Regions from separate parts of the Homo sapiens genome. Here region 1 is linked to region 2. The links are contacts of gene promoters, found by promoter capture Hi-C in blood cells and fetal thymus (Javierre and others, 2016). All regions are on one chromosome and are shown on one strand. The core of a region is centred on a gene start or on the middle of the fragment in contact, and the rest is flanking DNA. Distances in the headings are between cores, read along the strand shown. Region 1 overlaps GALNT2 (polypeptide N-acetylgalactosaminyltransferase 2). Region 2 holds the start of ABCB10 (ATP binding cassette subfamily B member 10).

The links. The method cuts DNA at HindIII sites, captures the fragments that hold promoters and counts their contacts. A CHiCAGO score of 5 or more calls a contact.
Region 1: a fragment that was not itself captured here is called in contact with the fragment with the promoter of ABCB10 in region 2 in 4 of 17 cell types (neutrophils, megakaryocytes, naive B cells and 1 more); the score reaches 7.0 in neutrophils.

Annotation. Positions count from the first base shown.
Region 1 is chr1:230,185,813-230,191,155 of GRCh38, forward strand. All of the region lies in intron 2 of GALNT2 (polypeptide N-acetylgalactosaminyltransferase 2), which reads left to right. Among named protein-coding and RNA genes, the nearest start is that of GALNT2, 120 kb to the left of the region's middle. RefSeq lists enhancers at 1-632, 633-1,371. The HindIII fragment of the contact is 5,711 bases long and covers 1-5,338 here.
Region 2 is chr1:229,556,915-229,561,920 of GRCh38, forward strand. ABCB10 (ATP binding cassette subfamily B member 10) reads right to left here and starts at 1,793. Exons shown (of 13, transcript NM_012089.3): 1 at 1,222-1,793. The coding sequence starts at 1,738. RefSeq lists silencers at 1,003-1,452, 1,513-2,212 and an enhancer at 2,383-2,572. The HindIII fragment of the contact is 4,467 bases long and covers 156-4,622 here.

The sequences.
Region 1 (5,343 bases), core at 1,233-3,732, 630 kb after region 2:
CCATGACTGGGTCCCCCTGGAGTTTTTAATCTCTTAGGCTTGTCCACAGTGAGCCTCCAGGAATTTTCCACTACAGTTTAGGTTTTCCTACCCCCGTAGTGGATCTTCAGGGGTTTCTACTTACAGGCTTCTGCTCCAGTGAATTGTGATTCCTTGTATTCACCTGTCCAATTTGGGGGGCTGTGGCTTGTGACATTTCTCCAACAGATCCAAGGCAGATCTCTAAGAAGTGCTGATTTTTCATTTTATTCAGCTTTTTACTGTTAGGACGGAATAACGACTTTCAAGCTCCTTACATGCCTATTGGGAACTGGACGTCCGTTTATGAAGTGTTTGCTTTGCTGGCAAGAGTGTTTGCTGGTGAGAGTGTTTGCTGGTGAGAGTGTTTGCACGTTGTGTTCTTGACTGTGGTTGGACAAGCGTCACCCCAGGGAGTCCAAGCCCCTCCTTTGTGCCCTCCCCATGCGTTGTCCCACCTACACCAGATGCAGGTATGTCACTGTCTCCTCCAGGAACTCTGACTGGACGCATGCATGCAGTCAATTTGTGTGTTAAGTCGGCCTCCCTGTCATCTTTCCAGCTCCTGGATGAGTCATGAAGCCCTGAGCCACAGTTCTTTCATATGTAAAGTAAACATTACCCACACAATGGGGAGCATCTGAATAGAATAGTTAATATTCCTTTATTATAATAATAGGAAGCTAGGATACACACTTCTGTTGTGTGGATTAATGAGAGACTTCCTATGGATTATCTTCTATTAAAAACATACAAGTGTTCTGATGGTTTTCAGGCAAATAGAGAGAGGGAGGGAAAAGCCATCTTCAGGTCATAGGCTGGATTTGACCATTGAGAGTCATACCTTACTTAAAATCATTTGAGTGCTCACATTGACTCTGCCTTTCATATCCTTAACTATTGCATACAGTTGGTTTTCTTATCTTCAAAGAGATCAGAATGTACTGATTTGCCTCTCTTTTGAGTTATTAGTAGTAATTTTTGATAAATGCACAATGTCTTTTTATTTTGCCAAAGGGCTTTCTTTCCTTTTTATGTTGAAACCATTTTTCTTACTAAACCAACATACACATAATTTTTTTGTTGTTAGAAATTATTTTCTTGTGATTGAAAAATACATTTTCCCTAAGCATGAGGAACACAGCTAAAGTTTTATGGTTTGCAAGAAACCGCTGGCCATGGCACTTCCCAGTGTGTCAGTGGTGTGTTCAGGAAGCTCAGTGGCTTCCTGTGTTCTGTGTGTTGGGCATGTAGCAGTTGTAGACAGATGGGCGGGAAGACATGACACCAAGCTGGATGCTTTTATGGCCACAGAACCCACTGACAGATGAAGGAGCCAGATCTAACAGGGCAGAGCAGTGATGTTCCAGGCCAACAGTCTCCAATTTTCTGATCGCACACTCTATGAACAGACGTATATTTAGACCACCTCCCACACACATATGTATTAAAATGCTTACTTAGGAATTACATGCATATTGCCGTACAGATTTATTGATACATTCTAAATGAAATGGGATAGTTCCCTTGACCCCTTCACAGGACTCAGCCCACAGCTCTCAGCCCCTCATGGGAGGAGCAGCATGCAGGTGAGTGGGTGCAGGGGCTGGGGTGAGTGCTTTTGGGCATCGGCAGGAGTAGAACTCTGTGCAGCCCCCCGGCAGCATCTGGGTGGGGCTACCTGTGACCCCTGGAGCCCTAGAGGGCATATGTTACAGTGTGCTCTTAGATTTGCTGTCCACAGATGACTTAAGTGTTAGCTCAGTGCAAGGTCAGTGTGACAGCCTTTTGCATCCACCCTCTTGGTACCTGAATTCTCGTCCGGTGTCCAGGAAGAATCAAGTTGTGCAAACAAATTGAAGGATGGTGAATGTGGAGGACTTTATTGAGCACTGGAAGTGGCTCTCAGTGGGATGGGAAGCTAGAAAGGGGGTTAAGTGGGAAGATGGTCTTCCCCTGGAGTCCTGCTGTCCCCAGCCAAACTCTTCTCCAAAGTCCTGCTGTCAAGCTGTCCCTCTGAAATCAAGCTGATTCTCTCCAACATCCGGCTGTTTCTTCTCTCCTTCTCTATTGCTTTGCTGGTAGGGCCTGGGGTTTTTATGGGTACAAGATGGAGGGTGGGGCGGGCCGGGGTGGTTTTGGAAAAGGCAACATTCGGGCAGGAAAACAGAAATGCATGTTCTCACTTTGGGCCCTACGGTTCCAGGCTTGAGGGTGTGGCGTTTGCTAGGGACCACTCTCTCCTACCCAGTATTTCCCTGCCTCCTGTTTGTATCATAAAGTGTATTTAAAATAAGCTATTATAAAGGATGAGGAAAATACTTGACAATGTCTGTCATTTTCTTTCTTTGCCCCAGAAGATTGTCTTATGTGGCCCCACTTTGGAGACTACCACTCTTGGGGCTGCCGTGGTCACAAAAACCCAGATTATTGTTTTAACTCTATTTCTTGCCTTGGTTCATCGTACTTTGGGGAAGAATCTGGAATTTGTATAAAGTATACCACCCAAGTGGCAGTCCCAGCTGGAAGTCATGGAATGGGGGCAAGAACAATAACCTGGGAGCACGGGATCTGGGTTCGGAACAAGGATGATGGCCGGGAGCTCTAGGCTCAGCTGTGCCACCAGTCCTGTGGCCTTAGACAAGTTAAGGAGTATTTGGGTTTTGTTTTCCTTGTCTGTAAAATTTAGATACATTCTTGCTCTAAAACTCTTTGATTCTGTTAACTGTGTCTTACCATTTCCCTTTAATCTCTATTCTCAGATTGGAATCACCAATTTTATTTTCTTTTACATGCTGTAAAAATATATCTCTGTAGTTCCCCCCACCCTCATACCACATTTCAGGTCTACTGTGGATGAGTTTTTGCCCATAAACTCTGTGACCCTTGCTTCTATTTCAGCATCATGCTTTCTACTTGGAACCACTGAATTTTTTTTTTCAGTGTTGGTTTTTAAAATATTGTCTTCAAATAGAGTATGTATATTAGTCAATATTTTGTATTTTGGAAATCTATCTGATAGAGAAGAATGTCATTTTTTCCCCTTGGTGTGGAAAAACTTCTGGATTGAAAAATAAGTTTCTCCCTGTAATTGTCTCTGAATCTGACCAGCCAGCCAGCTGGCAGAAGGACTGGCAAAGGAGCGGGGGCCGGAAGAGGAGCAGGGGCCAGTAGAGGAGTGGGGCCGGAAGAGGAGCAGGGGCAGCTGTAGGGGCTAGAAGGCCGAGGTCTGCCTCTGAGGACAGCTGTTGATGAGGTTCTTGTTGGAGATCTCTCACCCTTTGGTCAACGTGGCCTTTTGGAGCAGATTTTCTCTTTGCCTTTATGAGACCTTAGTGTCATTCTTGTATTCCTTAGTAACCTTGTGTAAAGGGCTGAGGCTTAGGAGAGACGAGGGTAGGGAGAGAGTTCAGAAAGGAGAGTCCTAAGGCCGTCTGGATTCTCCTTGAGCCCCCTCCCCATCCTGGTCCTGGGCTGTGTCTTCATCACAGCCACCCCTCCCCGATGTGCTGTTGGTTCAGTTACCCCAGACAGTGGATTTCTCAGAACAGAAATTGCTAATGTTCACGTAAAGATGAATGAAATGGGAATGATGAAATGTGTTAAGAGAACTTAAATCCAGGGTGTGAATTGCCACTGATCCTAACAGAGACGTTTTAGCTTTTCTACTTCCCACCTGCCGGAAGAAAGATGAGATAAACCACTTGTGTTATTTGTTCAGCATTGCTGCAGCATCAGAGAGGAGTGTTCCCCGACCCTTTGTTTTTCTAGGTGACTTAATGGGTTCTGGCATTGTGCATTTATCTTTTTAATTGTGGTAAAAGATGCGTAACACTAAAGTTGCCATTTTAAGCGTTGTTAAGCATACAGGTCCGTGGCATTAAGCGCATTCACAGTGTTGTGCAGTCATCACCACCATCAATTAGAGCTGTTTTCATCTTGCAAAATGGAAACTGTACCCATGTAGTACCAATGTCCCATTCCTCCCTCTCCCAGGCCCTGGTATTCCTGTTTCTATGAATTTGGTTCCTCTGGGTCCCTCATATGAGTGCAGCCTTACAGTACTTGTCCTTTATTTCTGGCTTGTTCACTTAGCATAACTCCTCCAGGTTCACCCATGTTGTGGGTCAGAATTCCCTTCCTGTGTCTCTGTGAACCATGTGCCCTGTGATACATGTCGTGTGAGGTGGAACCGTGTGACACTTGTGGGGAGCGAAGTCTACGTAGTTCTTCATGAGCCAGGCCTGAGGCCAGTGATCTGCACAGTGTTGTCATAAGGAAAATAAGTGGCTGTCAGTGTCTTTAGGGAAGCATCTTTTAAAAAGCAAGCAATGTGTGTATTGTACGTTTTAGAAATTCAGATAAGCAAAAATAAGAAAATTATATTCATACATAATTCTACCATCCAGAAACAACCACCATTCCTCTCCCACTGCGTGTTCCTCCATACTTGCCCTGGGCGTATACCCAGGTGGGTGTGCTGCCCCCATAGCTGAGACGAAGGGGTCTCCTCTGCATGGGATGCGCCAAGACCCACGCACTTGAAGCCTCAGGCCTTGCACAGTTTCTTAGAGTTGGCTCCTGGGACCAAATGCTCCTGAAGCATCTGGCCTCTCTGACAACAGGTCCTGAGTTTTATCCCACATTCAAAGTTCAATCTTTTCGTGAATTTCTATGAAAATTCAGGTCATCCACAAGGTGACTAGCATTTCAGTAGATTTGGGGGATTTGCTGAGACGTCTCTCCACACACGCCCATCTCTCTTTCAGAGCCCCCTCTGGGCTCTGACTCCCTGATCGGGGGCCACCCTCCTCTCTCTTCTCTCCTGAAACGGGGCCTTTTTCTATGGGCAGTTCCCTACCATCTGCTTACAGCTAGATTTTTACAAATACAGCACTGTGGTGTACCATCTCTGCTTGGGCGATATATCGGGAACTCCTTTTCACATCCATAAACATCTCCTATAGCATTTTAATGGCAGCAACATCTCGACCGCCATCGGCTCATTGAACTTATTTTTTGTTGTGGGACATAAAGAGGGGTTCCAGCCAGTATCCTGAGAGGTAAATCTTTGTTTAAGTCCATGATTATTTTCTTGAAATGAATTCCTAAAAGTGAAATTGCAGGGTCAATGGCAATGCATGCATTTTTTAATATTAGTTGCCATTTTATCTTCCACAGGGGGCCTATTTTCTTACTCTAGCCAACATTAAAAAATCTTCATTGTCCTTCTCCTGTTCCAACAAGCAAGAAAGTGGAGACCAAGGGCTGAGATCAGTAGCCAGAAATGTAATGGAGCTGTTTAAAAATAGTTATCTTAAGCTT
Region 2 (5,006 bases), core at 543-3,042:
CGTCTCAAGCAGCTCAAAGTCCAGTGAGAGCTCCTAGTCTCCAATGTTTTTAAAAAGAGGAAAGAGAAAAAGATATTTTACAACAAAATCTACACTCAACCAACTGAACAATGAAATAATTCTCTTTACACCCGAGTGATATCAACAGCCCCCTAAGCTTTCATAGCAACTGGTAGATGAAAAGTCGCCACCCTAACTGCTCTCCTCCACTGTGCAAACCTACTCTAAATCCCAAATCACTACCCAGGAGGGTCCTTTCTAAAGCAATGGATTTGCAGCAAAGAATGCTTTTCTGGTGTTGCACCTGACAACCTCACAGGCCCCACAGGCCCCCTTCCACAGCCCACAGGTGCAGGTTTACCTCTATACATACGAATATTTCATAGATGCTTCTCCCCACTAACCTAGAAGCCCCAGCAGAAGTGAGGACCATGTTTCCTTGTGCATGCCACTGTAAACCCAGGGCCCAGTCCAGAATGAGGGCTCAACAGATGTTTATAGAAGGAGTGAAGATTTAGAGAAATCGAAAAAATTTTAGATCTTACAAGGCCCTTGCATCTAAACACTCCTCCAATTATGGCTAAAAAATGAGGAGCTATAGAAAACTGTCCTATTTAAATTTTGTTTCTAAAAACATTCATTTTGGCTTCTTTTAAAAAAGTTACTCAATTACTGAACAGATCACTGGTGTGGCCTGTTGAACACAGTGCTGTAACTTCCTGCACAAGAGACAAGTCTGAAAGTTTTGCTTTCCGCTGTGAAAGCATTGGTGACTGCTTGACAGACTCGCTTGAAGCAAATAATGTGTTTTTGGTTAAAAAAAAAAAGTATAAACGCCTAATAACAAAATAGGCATATTTTTGGCTAGAATTTTTTTTTCCAAGGAAAAACCTCCAGCTCATTTTGCTGCCTAAGCCAAAACAGATGCTCCCACTAAGTTGGTGGTGGAACAGACCCAAAGATTCCAATAATGACATATATAACGTGTGTCAACAAGAAAACAAGTGTAAAATCTGCAAACGAGTCCCCAGCTAAGGCGAAATCTTGACAACGCTACTCTGAGGTGAGCGATCCCCTCCCTCCTCCGGGGTTAGGAGTGGCCCAGGAGAGGCGGCGGTGACACGCGCTCTGCGGCCCGGCCGTGTCCCTCTCGGCGCCCCGGGACCCCGCGTGTGGAGAAGGAGAGGCCCGGCGGAGGGAAGTGGCCGGGGAGGACCCTACCTGCCAGCCTCCGGCGCTCAGGGTACGCCAGCCCCAGGAGCTTCCGGGCCTCCGGGAGTCCGGCCGCTGCGGGGCGCAGCCGCCCCTTGTCCCCGGGAGGCGCCGCCGGCCCGCGCCGCCAGGCCTCGTCCCCTGCCCAGGCAGCGGCTGCGGGACCGCCCGGGAACCGGGCGCGCGGGAGCCGAGGAGCGCCTGGCCCGGCAAAAGCCCCGCACCTGCAGCTGCCGGGGCCGCGAGCCCACAGCCCCAGGAGCCGCGCGAGGCCCAGGACGCCCCGCGAGGCGCCCGGACCCCCGCCCCGGCAGCCGCTCCTCCAGCGGCGCGCGGCTCCAACGCCCCAGAGCAGCGCGGGCCCCGCGCCCCATAGCCGCGCCGGCCTCAGGCCAGTGAACGGCGATAGGGACCCGGGAACGCGGCTGGCCGCGGCCCACACGCAGGCTACCGGCAGGAGCCGACCTGGCTCGGCAGGGCTCGGTGGCTCGAGCAGCCGCAGCGGCCAGGCAGGGGGGCCTCGCATGGCGCTGCGTGCGACCCGTACGCCTCAGCCCGCCGGCCAGGCGCGCGCAAAGCCCGAGGACCCTCCCGGCCCGGCCCCGAGCAAAGGGCGTGGACGCGGTGGCGCCCGCCCCTCCCCGCTGGCTGTCACCCGCCTTATCGTGCCTGCACCCTCGGGCTGCGCCCGCCCCCGCCCCATCCTCGTCCGCGCGGTGCCGCGCCTCTCCGCCCCACTCCGGGGACTGCAGCTACCCGGACCTTGCAAGCCACCCTTCCGAGCGCCCCCAACCCGCTCGGGTGCCCTCCCTGCAGCGCCCCCAACTGCCCGCTGGCGGAGGAGCGCCGGGCGCGCCAGCTGGGACGAGGCCCGGGAAGCCCAGGAGCACGGCTGCGCCTGCGTACTGGGCGCAGGGAACTTTTTCGCGCTTCGCCGTCCCCTCTGGTCTGAACTTGGGAACGACACGAGCTCTTTCTCACGCCGGCAGACCGGGCGGAGCGCGCAGACGCGACCACACGATGGCCGGCACAAAGATGGGGCGGGAGGACAGCGTGCTGGATACGGCGTGGGGCGGGTCCGCGGCCCGGGAGACCCATGCTGGGGCGGCCCTGTCACTCGTCTCGCTGCCAAGCACAGGGCTGAGGTGCGGAGGGACCACTGAGAGGACTTCGCTGCGTGTCAGCTCAGCTCTGGACGGCGTGGAGGAGGTGGTTGGCGAATAGTGAAATGTATATAACTTTGAGAAGGGAAGAGATCGTTTCTTTTTTTTCTTTTTTTTTTTTTTCTTGAGACGATCTCGGCTCACTGCAACCTCTGCCTCCCAGGTTCAAGTGATTCTCCCTTCTCAGCCTCCCAAGTAGCTGGGATTACAGGCATACGCCACCACACCCGGCTGATTTTGTATTTTTAGTAGAGACGGGGTTTTACCATGTTGGTCAGGCTCTTTTCGAACTCCTGACCTCAGGTGATCCGCCCGCGTCAGCCTCCCAAAGTGCTGGGATTGCAGGCGTGAGCCACCGTGCCCGGCCTGAGATCGTTTCTTAACTAGAGCAGAAATTTGAAGACAGGCGTGGTCGAGGCATTCCCGCTGTTCGAAGTGGAAAACACTAATCAGAAGGCAATGCATCTTAATACACGTGCATGGAAAGACAGGAGAGAACATTAAAACTCACTGGGACACTTTATGGAGACTTCATGGGGGCGGGGGGGGATATGTACCTGAGGTCCAGTGAGTCGTGGGTAGATTTTTGTAGACTCCTAGGTATTTTTACTGGACCTGGACAGGGTACTGTCAGTTGCAAATTTTATGGGTTCACAAAATAAAAAAACCTCAATAATCAACATAAACATTTTAGTGCAATATTTTTAAAAATCAAAATTAATTTAAAAAATCCGTAATGAACAAAATATAAAAAATTTTGATTGAGTATCCACTCCTGACCTTTCACAATCCTGCCTCTCTTCTCTCGCTCTAATCCCAGCCCTGGAAACTTTATTTACAAAAACTGACAGCAGCTGCCCTTAGTTTGGCAGCTGGAAAATGGGAAAGAGAAAGTAAGAGGAAGGTGAGATTTGGGTTAAAGTTGTCACTTTCTCTTCAACTGGGAGGGTATCAATCCTTGATGTTTCTTTAGTTGGGCTCAAAAAGGAGGTAGCGGCCGGGCGCGGTGGCTCACACCTGTAATCCCAACATTTTGGGAGGCTGAGGCGGGCGAATCACGAGGTCAGGAGTTCGAGACCAGCCTGACCGACGTGGTGAAACCCCGTCCCTACTAAAAATACAAAAATTAGCCAGGTGTGGTGGAGCGTGCCTGTAATCCCAGCTACGCAGGAGGCTGAGGCAGGAGAATTGCTTGAACCCGGGAGGCGGAGGTTGCAGTGAGCTGAGATGGTGCCACACCGCACTCCAGCCTGGGAGACAGAGCAAGACTCCGTCTCAAAAAAAAAAAAGAAAAGAAAAAAAAAGAGGAGGTAGCGGCCAGGCGGTGGCTCACACCTGTAATCCCAACATTCTAGGAGGCCGAGGCGGGCGGATCACTCCAGGTCTGGAGTTTGAGACCAGCCTGGCCAACATGGTGAAACTCCATCCCTACTGAAAATACAAAAATTAGCTGGGCTTGGTGGTGCATGCCTGTAGTCTCAGCTACTTGGGACGCTGAGGGAGCATAATCGGTTGAATCCAGGAGGTGGAGGTTGCAGTGAGCTGAGATCACGTCACTGCACTCCATGCACTCTAGCCTGGGCGACACACCAAGACTGCATCTTTTCAAAACAAAATAAAAACAAAAAAAACACAAAGAGGAGGTAGCAAGATGCACAATGAAAACGATCCCATTTCTTTTCAGAAGTCACCTCATAAAAACTGACTTAAAAATTTTCAATTAAAATAAATTTTGCATGATTTGATTACTGAGACTTTTTAGCACATCTTTAAATTTTGTCCCTAGTAGAGTGCCTTAAGTATATGGTCCTGGTAGGTAAGGAGTGAGGTGGGGGAAGGATCGATAATAGAAAGTGTGGGGTTAAGTCGGGCCTTAAATGTGCCTGTGAAATGAGCAGTAAGCATGTAATCCTCTAAAGTCCAACCTCTTAAACCCAGAGGACATGGAGTCTCGCCTCCCTACCCCCGCCCCCCCACTTTCCTGCCCCCAGGGTGACGACAATTCAAGCTAGTTTCTCATCAGTGCAGAAGTTCTAGAATTGGTGGTGTAGTGTGAAATCAGCTCCACTGATATTTATGACTAAGCATGTTCCTTTTAGCAAATATGTTATTCAGTGACTTCTGAAAAGAAGTAGGATCATGCCTCATCATGCATCCTGCTACCTCTTCTTTGAGCCCAGCTGAAGAAACATCAATGAACGACACTCTCCCAGTTGGAGAGAAAGTGACAATTTTAACCTAGACCTAAGCTTCATCTTTCTCTTACCCACTTTCCAGAAAACCCCTGCTGCTGCAAGGGCCAGGAAATGTCAGACTGGCCTTCCCTTCCTGCCTTCCCTGGCATGGCATCCCACTGCCTTTTTCTGCCATTGCTCTCTAAGGCCTCCAGTCAATAGAAAAATAACTCAAGTGTAGCTGATTAAAAAACAAAACTTGGCCAGGTGTGGTGGCTCACGCCTGTAATCCCAACACTTTGGGAAGCCAAGGTGGGAAGATCATTTGAGGCCAGGAGTTTGAGACCAACCTGTGCAACACTGGGAGACTCCATCTGTACAAAAACTAAAAATGTAAAAATTAGCTGGGTGTGGTGGTGTGTGCCTGTAGTCCCAGATACTTGGGAGGCTAAAGTGG